Regions from separate parts of the Homo sapiens genome. Here all the other regions are linked to region 2. Evidence: promoter capture Hi-C in human tissues and cell types (Jung and others, 2019). All regions are on one chromosome and are shown on one strand. Each heading gives the region's core, a stretch centred on a gene start or on the middle of the fragment in contact. The rest is flanking DNA. Distances are from core to core; before and after follow the strand shown. Region 1 overlaps TANC1 (tetratricopeptide repeat, ankyrin repeat and coiled-coil containing 1). Region 2 holds the start of TANC1 (tetratricopeptide repeat, ankyrin repeat and coiled-coil containing 1). Region 3 overlaps TANC1 (tetratricopeptide repeat, ankyrin repeat and coiled-coil containing 1).

What was found. The method cuts DNA at HindIII sites, captures the fragments that hold promoters and counts their contacts. A contact is called where the count stands out against the background at its distance.
Region 1: a contact is called between a fragment that was not itself captured here and the fragment with the promoter of TANC1 in region 2, in 1 of the 25 tissues and cell types used here (bladder).
Region 3: a contact is called between a fragment that was not itself captured here and the fragment with the promoter of TANC1 in region 2, in 1 of the 25 tissues and cell types used here (IMR-90 fibroblasts).

The regions. Positions count from the first base shown.
Region 1 is chr2:159,138,093-159,140,792 of GRCh38, reverse strand. The region is part of intron 5 of TANC1 (tetratricopeptide repeat, ankyrin repeat and coiled-coil containing 1); the gene reads right to left. Among named protein-coding and RNA genes, the nearest start is that of MIR6888, 47 kb to the left of the region's middle. RefSeq lists an enhancer at 919-1,088. The HindIII fragment of the contact is 4,580 bases long and covers 1-2,700 here.
Region 2 is chr2:158,967,357-158,970,056 of GRCh38, reverse strand. It overlaps TANC1 (tetratricopeptide repeat, ankyrin repeat and coiled-coil containing 1), which reads right to left and starts at 1,417. Exons shown (of 27, transcript NM_033394.3): 1 at 1,275-1,417. RefSeq lists silencers at 1,382-1,461, 1,522-1,631. The HindIII fragment of the contact is 16,038 bases long and covers 1-2,700 here.
Region 3 is chr2:159,204,692-159,207,391 of GRCh38, reverse strand. All of the region lies in intron 19 of TANC1 (tetratricopeptide repeat, ankyrin repeat and coiled-coil containing 1), which reads right to left. Among named protein-coding and RNA genes, the nearest start is that of MIR6888, 19 kb to the right of the region's middle. The HindIII fragment of the contact is 3,711 bases long and covers 1-2,700 here.

The sequences.
Region 1 (2,700 bases), core at 92-2,591, 170 kb before region 2:
CTTGAACCCAGGAGGCAGAGGTTGCAGTGAGCCGAGACTGTGCCACTGCACTCCAGTCTGGGCAACAAGAATGAAGCTCCATCTCAAAAAAAAAAAAAAAAAAAAATAGAGAATCTCCATCTGCTGAACTCCTAGTTCATCACACAGCTTGGATTAGTCATTACTTCCTCCTTTATTACAGTCACGCCATATACAGGTCTCTAATCCCCTGCCAGACTCTAAGGCTCCATAAAGACAGGACCCATGCTTGATAACCCATCTCAAATAGCATTTAGCATAGTGTTTTTTCACAGCATAGAAACTGAATACTTATTCAAGGAAATGCAGAATGAATGGATACTCTACTTCCAAGAGTCTCTCTTCTGTGCACACATACCAGGTATGCCCCTTTTCTATACTTCCATCAAATAAAACCTCATTCAACCATTGGTTGAATGTTGCACTGCCATTCTAAGAAGCTGAAAATTAAAGCAGGATCAAGGTTACCTCTTGGGAAAGAAAGGGTTTTAAGAAATAAAACATGACTATGCATTTTTTTCAATCATATTCTTTTTTTCACTTTTTTTTTTTTGAGACAGGGTCTCACTCTGTCTCCCAGGCTGCAGTGTAATGGTGTGATCATGGCTCACTGCAGCTTCCACCTCCCTGGCTAAAGAATCCTCCCACCTCAGCATCCTGAGTAGCTGGGACCAGAGAGGTGCACTGCTATATCTGGCTAATTTTTTGACTTTTTGTTGATATGAGGCCTTGCTACATTGTCCAGGCTGGTATCAAACTCCTAGGCTCAAGCAATTCTCCTGCCTTGGCCTCCCAAAGTGCTGGGATTATAAGGGCGAGCCACCACACCCAGCCCCTTTATGCTTTATACCTCTTTAATCCTCTATACCTGTCTGACCATCTAAAATGGTAATAAAAAACATAAGGTATCAAAATATTTACTTAAGCATATAACTAAAGACCCTCTCCTCCCAGAAGATAGTTTCACATTGAATTATTCTGCTCTTTCATATGTGTTAGCTTTATTTGCTTAGTCAGACTGCCAGGAAAAAAGTTTCGTCACTGACTGACATGAAGATATCATTTAAAAAAAGTTTCATCATATTTTGAGATTGATCTTCACAGAGCAATGACTTATGAGACTAAAAACTTTCTAGCCCCTCCTCAAAACTTGCCCTAGTAGCTAGAAATATATTAATGCAAACCTAAATAAATTATGGTTACCCCTAAATCAAAGAAATAAAGCGTGGATCCTGTTATAACAATCATCTCTAATTTATCTGAAGGTTTTTTTTCCCTTAACGCAGATATTGTTTGTGGGTAAATGAGCTTTCCCCTAAACGATATGTTGATTTAGCAATAGGAAGCTTACTCATTAAGAACTTATTCTACCTGACACACAGCTTATTAGGACCATTTGACATGAAAATGGGCTTTGTATTTTGTTTGATGATTTTATTAAGTCATCCGTTTTTCCTAGAGTAGAAAATGCTGTGTTTCAAATATATTTAAACATACTAAGATAGAATGTTTTTTCCTAAAGATGTTTCCAGGTGAGTGCAAACTCCTTCCTTTCCTTCCTTTCTTTTTTAAAGAGACAAGGTCTCACTATGCTGCTCAGGCTGTTCTCAAACTCCCAGTCTCAAGCAATCCTCCCACCTCGGCCCCCTGAATCACTGGAATTACAGGTGTGAGCTACAGTCCCCAGCTTGCAAGCTTTAAGAAACAAGTTATTTGCTTACAAAAAAAAATTCATCTTCTTACATCATCGAACCCACACTTCCCAGAAGGCTAAAACGTGCATCACACATAAATGCAATTACTTATAAATAAGCAAATTCAAAATGTTCTTTGGTTTGTTTTCCTTTGATTTAAAATCCAAACAGAGAGCTAAGAATCAAGAGTTGATGGAGCTACATGACCAAAGCAAAAGTGAGGCAGGAAAGTATTTCAAGCATTTAGGAATAACCTGCTATTTCACGAGTCCATGGGAAATTTCAAAAGCACTTCACAAAGAGCTGTTTTCAGTGGAGTCTGTTAGTCTGGTGAATACTGGCATGCTATTATTGACAGCACCCAGAAAAGCGTCTTAGAAACTTAAACAAGAATGTCCAAGGGAAATATAGATAACAGAAGACCACATTTTAAAGTAAAACTTAAGTGATGATGCTGATATTAAACCCTAAAAATGAGGGTTTGCCCATCATGTATCTGTACACACCTGGGTTAACACTCAAACTCAATTAGTTTTAGTCGGCTCTATCATTTCCTTTGGGTTCAGTGATCTGGATAAAATTTACACTTTGACATGGCAGACTTAATTAACCCCATTGAAATTTAAGGGACTCCATGGGGATTACAAAACATACCATTCTATACTAATTGTCCTGTTCGACTTTGTTAGGCAGCCACCTCTCCTCATCAACCAAGAGAAAGCTCACCCTGCTGCGGCATCCACCAACATCATGGCTATCTTCAGGCAAGACCATGCACCCACAGACGTGAACTACACCTGCTCCCGAGACACTTAACAAAAATGAAAACATACCCTGCTTCTTAATTTCAGGCGAAACCGAAATGTCTGGTCCTGTATTTGTAGCCCATAGATCTCATAACTTTGGTCCCCATGAAGACTAAAGATGCCGAATCAGAAAGCTCAGGTCTCAGGAGTGAGCACACATGCAAACTTCAGGCCACTCCAGC
Region 2 (2,700 bases), core at 168-2,667:
CTGAACCAGGAACTTCCTTTCCGCGCCAGCCAGAGTTTGCGGTCCAACCCACGTTAAGACTCAGCTTCCATTTACCTTGTAACCTGTACGGACGACGCTGCTTCTGGGGTCAAGTTCAAGATGAAAGTTCCCTCCTCACCTCCCAAGTTAACTCCAGCAGGGAACAACGCCACTGAGAACGGTCCCAACACTGGAGGCACGCGGATCTGGAGCTGGCAGGAGGGGGCTGGGAGAAGGCCGTTGCCGAGCCTGGCGTCCTCCGCCCCTTGGCCGCAGCGCCGCGTTTCTACCTGGCCAACGCCACATTTCCTCCCGGAGCTTTACACAATAAGTCCAGTAAGTTTTGAGAACACCGGTCCAGGGACCTTTCTGTCTGCAAACACACCACACAATGCCTAGAGCTTCCTTCCCAGCCAGGCGTTCCGGAAAGCCGCCGCGCCAAAGCCGGGAGCCCCGCACACCCACAGCGCTGCGCGCCCGCACCCCAAAGTCCTCCAGGAAGCCAGTGCCCTGATATCGTCCCCCGAAAATGACCACTCTGCATCCAAGAACAAGGGGGCTCACAATCTTGACAATTACCGCTCTTCTCAGCGCCCCACCCCTAAAGAAAAACCCCCAACGTCTAATCCTAACTCACCCCCACCCCCAATAAAGGAGTGTGGATATGCTAATCGCAGTGTTCTTGGAAGCAAAGCAATAGACTTTCAGCCCAGACTGGGGCAATACCATGCCTCCGGCTTAAGTTCTCTCGGCAACTTCGCGACCCGCGCACCCCAACACTCCGGGGGGCGCCCAGGACCCCGCGGTGCCAGGCGCGCCTCCCCCCGCCTCCCCCGCGCCAGGTACCAGGCGTAGCCCAGGCCCTTGCCAAGCCCGAGGGCTACAGAGAAGGCGGGAAAGGGGGCGAGCGGGCGCGCCGGGCGGGGGTGGTCCCAGAACTCGAGCGTGCCCCAAGCGTTCCCGGTTCCCACCACACCGGTTCCAGGGGAGGCCGGCTCGGTCCGGCGCGGGGGAACCGCGCAAGGAAGGTGCGGACTCCCCAAAGCCGCCGAGAGACCAAGGCCCGGGGCGCCCAACATGTCTGTGCCTATTCCCGGAAAGCTCCCGGGTGTGCCCGGCGGAGGAGGGGGCGCTCCAGAAACTTTCCCACACGCCTTTCCCTTCTCCCATCACCCTCTCCACCCCGGGTCCCTCTCGACCTCTCCGCACACTGGCAGCTGGCCATGCCCGGGGCGCTCGCAGGCCCGCGGCGGAGTCCGGGCTGCGGGAGTTACCTGCCGGGAAAGTTTCCAGCTCCTCAGCGCGGTTCCCCACACCCAGGGCCGGGCCTCGGGGCGAGGCCAGCTCGGCGCTCCGCGGCTGCCTCTCCTCCGGCTCCCGAGGCGGCCGCCGCTCCAGCAGCTGCCACAGCAAAGCCTCCGCTCCGGCCCGTCCCCCCGCCTTGCTCGGCCCACACCGGGGCCTCATTGGCAGCGCGAATCCCCGCCCTTGCGCGTGTTCCCGAAGGCACCTTCCTCTCGCGCGCCCGCCCCGGCCGCGCCTCCCGCGCCCCTCCCCGCCCCGGGCTGCGGCGGATCCAGGGACCGGCTGGAGCGCGGAGCGCGAACTTTCCGCGGGGCTTGGGCGCGAGGTCCCCTTGTCCCGCCTCTCGGCGCCAGGTCCGGGCCTGAAGCACCCTACCATCCCTCTGGGCACCGGGTCCCCCGGGGCTGCGCCTAGGCCCCTCTGGGACCAAAATGAGATGGGCCATAGTCTTTTTTACAGCCTCTTCAAAATCAATAAAGCGACCCGGCCTTCCCTCCTCGCTGCTTTTTTACCACAGCCGAGGAGGACATATGGGAGCAATTAACCGAGCTGGAGTTTCCGTGGACGCTTTGGGGTGGCTTGTGCGGCTTTCTTGGATTTTCTCTGCCTCACTTAACTACACACAAACACAAACACACTTTCTGGGGCCAGAATCAGCTAAATGAGCTGGAAGGTCTAAGAAGGCATCTCACCGGCTGCGTCTTTTTATTTCCCAAAAGGAATGGGGGACGTTCTGGGGCCGGTGATTTCCCGGGCGTCCCTGGGGCCGCGGGTCTGGAGCCTCCTGCGACCGCTCCGGGCTGGCCCGTGCTGTCTGCGCTACATTCACAGAGGGCCAGCGTCGTGCTTCTGTCGGAAGGAGGTGGGAGGGACGGAGGGGAGAGAACACACAAAGATGCTATTATTTTGTCGGTTGGTGGCAGTAAATTAAACTCCTGAGTTCCCAAAATGTTTTGTTATTCTCCAGCAGAGCAAAAACCAGGATAGGGACTAGGGATTCGGGTGTCCTGGGTTCTCCAAGATCCTCCCAGGAATCCCAGGCAGCCAAATTGGCCTAAGGGACTCTGCTCACTTAATACCCGAAGCTCTCTAAGACAGCCTTCGTTGATCTAGTTGACGAAGGAAGGATCAACTAGAACTGCCGCTGCCTTGTGTGGCCAGCGGGAATTGTGCACGGGTCACCCCATTGGTGTGTCTGGAGCAGAGAATAGAGAAGTTGCTGTAAACCGATTTATTGGTAACCCCTAACCTTGCTGTGGCAAACCCGCCTTAAAATACGATTGTGTTTTAAACAAGTTTCCTCATAAAAACTTCAACCTCACGCAGAGCTTCCCTATATAAAGACACCAGCAGGAGGGGTGTCCATATTTAAAGTTCTTATGAAAAGGGACAGGA
Region 3 (2,700 bases), core at 8-2,507, 240 kb before region 2:
GCCTCCAGGAAGTCACCTTTAAAAATATCTAAAGCATCCAACAGCCTTCTATGAGAGTTGTTTAGAATGAAAGTACCAGAAAGTGCTTCTCTTTTTCTGAGGAACTGCTGCGATTTCTCCCATGGACAATAAAAATGGTTTACAAGGATTGTGTTCCCCTCTAATTCTGGCCACATGGCATTCCACAGCCACAGTAGTAGCTCAATTTAGTATGCCATGGCACGAATGTTTGAGCGGTTCCTCATGTCCTATTCCTGACTTAGTGTTTTAAAGTTCTTATCTGCATCATTTCAAGTAAGTCTCTTCAAATCCTTTGAGGAATAATGTGTGTGCTATAAATAATGTAACCTCAATTTAAAAATAATTTCCTAAAAGATCAACAACATAAGCCATCTTTCATACAGACTTTGTTCTTCTAAGAATCCATGAGAAGACCGGACCTTTGGACAGCTGTCACTTCTAAAGTGTGCTGAGAATGTTCGCATGTGGAAGGCTGGGTTACACACCAAGTTATTTAAAGCAGGCATAAGGTTCTCTCTCTCCTCTCGGTAAGGGCTAAGCTTGTGCTGAGGACTTCATTACATGCCAGGACACCACATGAGGTCTCAGTGTAAAAAGGGGGCATTTCCACAAAAGCATTTTACACAACCTCACATCTGGCCCCCAAAACACAGAAAGAATCCAAATATCATTTCAAGAAGAAACAAGGATGATTTTTCTGTGGGAGTGTAATCCTTCCCAAAATATGAATGAATACATTTTTCTGTTGAAGGCAGAAGTATTTTTTATTAAATACTCAGGAATCACTCACTAGAAAAATGGACTCTGTACAGCAAGAACAGCTTGATGAAGGTGGTCAAGGGGCTAATTTGTTCGTGCTTGAGACACCACCCCTGGGTTTCTACCTGCTCACTGCTGGCCACTCAGCCTGCCCTACAGGGCGGGGACATGCTGACCTGACCCCTCTGCCTTCTTCGCAGAGAGGAGTGGTCTCCGGAACCCACCCACATCAGGGGCAAAACCCAGGGGTCTGTGAGACCAGGAGGATAGGGTATGGACAAACCCAGCCCCCTCAGTTCTGATCCCCTATCTGCCTCCACTGTTTGGAGGACCCCCATACACATCCTCCTCCATCCAGAGCCCTGTTACCCCTTCCATGTTGGTAACCCCACTTTGTCCCTCCCCTTACAGGGCACAGGGTCACCCCACCCCATCTTGCTCCTTTCAGGATCCTGGGTGGTCCCTCCCACGCACCCTTGAGGGTACTGGCTTACTCCCCATCGTGTTGCTTTGCCGAGGATAGTTCTGACTGACAGCAGTCTGGACTTCCATGCCCACTAATCTTACTGAACCTTCTTAGAACAAACACTTGCAGAGGAAGGAATGCCTTGATAAAAAATTTCCAAAACCAGTACTGGTGAGATGCTCAGGACCTCTGAAAAATCCAGTATCTTCAGTGTACGACAGCAAGTCGCAGTTTTCTCTACAGCATCCTCCATGTGCGTTCCATGTAACACATATTCTCCACATGCCCCAACAAGCCATGGGCAAACGCTTTCCTTCCAATCTCTCACCTGAAATTCTGTCCTGAGATGTGCATGCATCACCTAATGAGGTGGATACTTCCTGAGAAAGGCCACACATCATCAATGACAGGGATGCATCCTGAGAAATGAGTCGTTAGGTGATTGTATCATTGTGCTAATACCACATAGTGGACTTACACAAACTTCGATGGTGTAGCCTACTACATGCCTAGACTATATGGTACAGCCTTTTGCTCCTAAACTGCTAAGCTGTACAGCCTGTTACTGTAGTGGATACTGTAGGCAGCTGTAACACGGTGGTACTTGTGTAACAAAACATAGAAAAAGTAGCAACATAGAAAAAATAAAGACACAGTATTGTATGGGAACACCTTCTCACATGCAGTCCATCGCTGACAGAAACATCATTATGTGGGGGATGGCTGTATATGTGACTGCAAGGCTCAATCCAGTAGGCCTGACATTTATTTTACATTCTTACCAAAGAACAGCCCCTTCTCTCTCCAAAATGCCTAAGGTAAATTCAAATGAAGAACGGGTCATTTTTACACCAACAGTAATTAGGCATCCAGCTCCCTGTGCTCTGGGGCAGCCTTGGATGTGGGAAGCCCACCGTCCACGCCTGGGGCCTCCCTGTGACTGAAGCCAAAAGAGCCACAAAAGGGGAAAGGAAAGCAGTCCCATGGAAACAAGAGGGAAACGAAAATCATCAAAGTGTCAAATACAACAGGACCCAGCTTCGCAGCCCAATTTGGAAACAGGTGTGAGGACCCCACCCCCAAGAGGGGCCTGGAAACACCCACCCCAGCTGCAGGGCACTGCCTGAGGCTCAAGATCCAGAGGGAGCAGGTTCTGTCCAAAATTCCATCCAGAATTAGTGAACAGTAAACTACGGTGAGCACACATGCCAAGTGGAATTGCTTCAATGCGCTACACAAAGGGAGGCCTACGACGCAGCTAAATAGCCCATTCAATTCACAGCGGAGAAAATCTGGCCCATCTGAACAGAGGCAAATAGTAGCTTTGACAATAAAAATTATTTACCTGACTAAACTCCTTTAGAAAGTATTCAACAATTAAAATATTACTGACTTAACATAAAAACACTTCACATGAAGTATTTCAGTCACACTTTTAACCAACTCCGATAGGG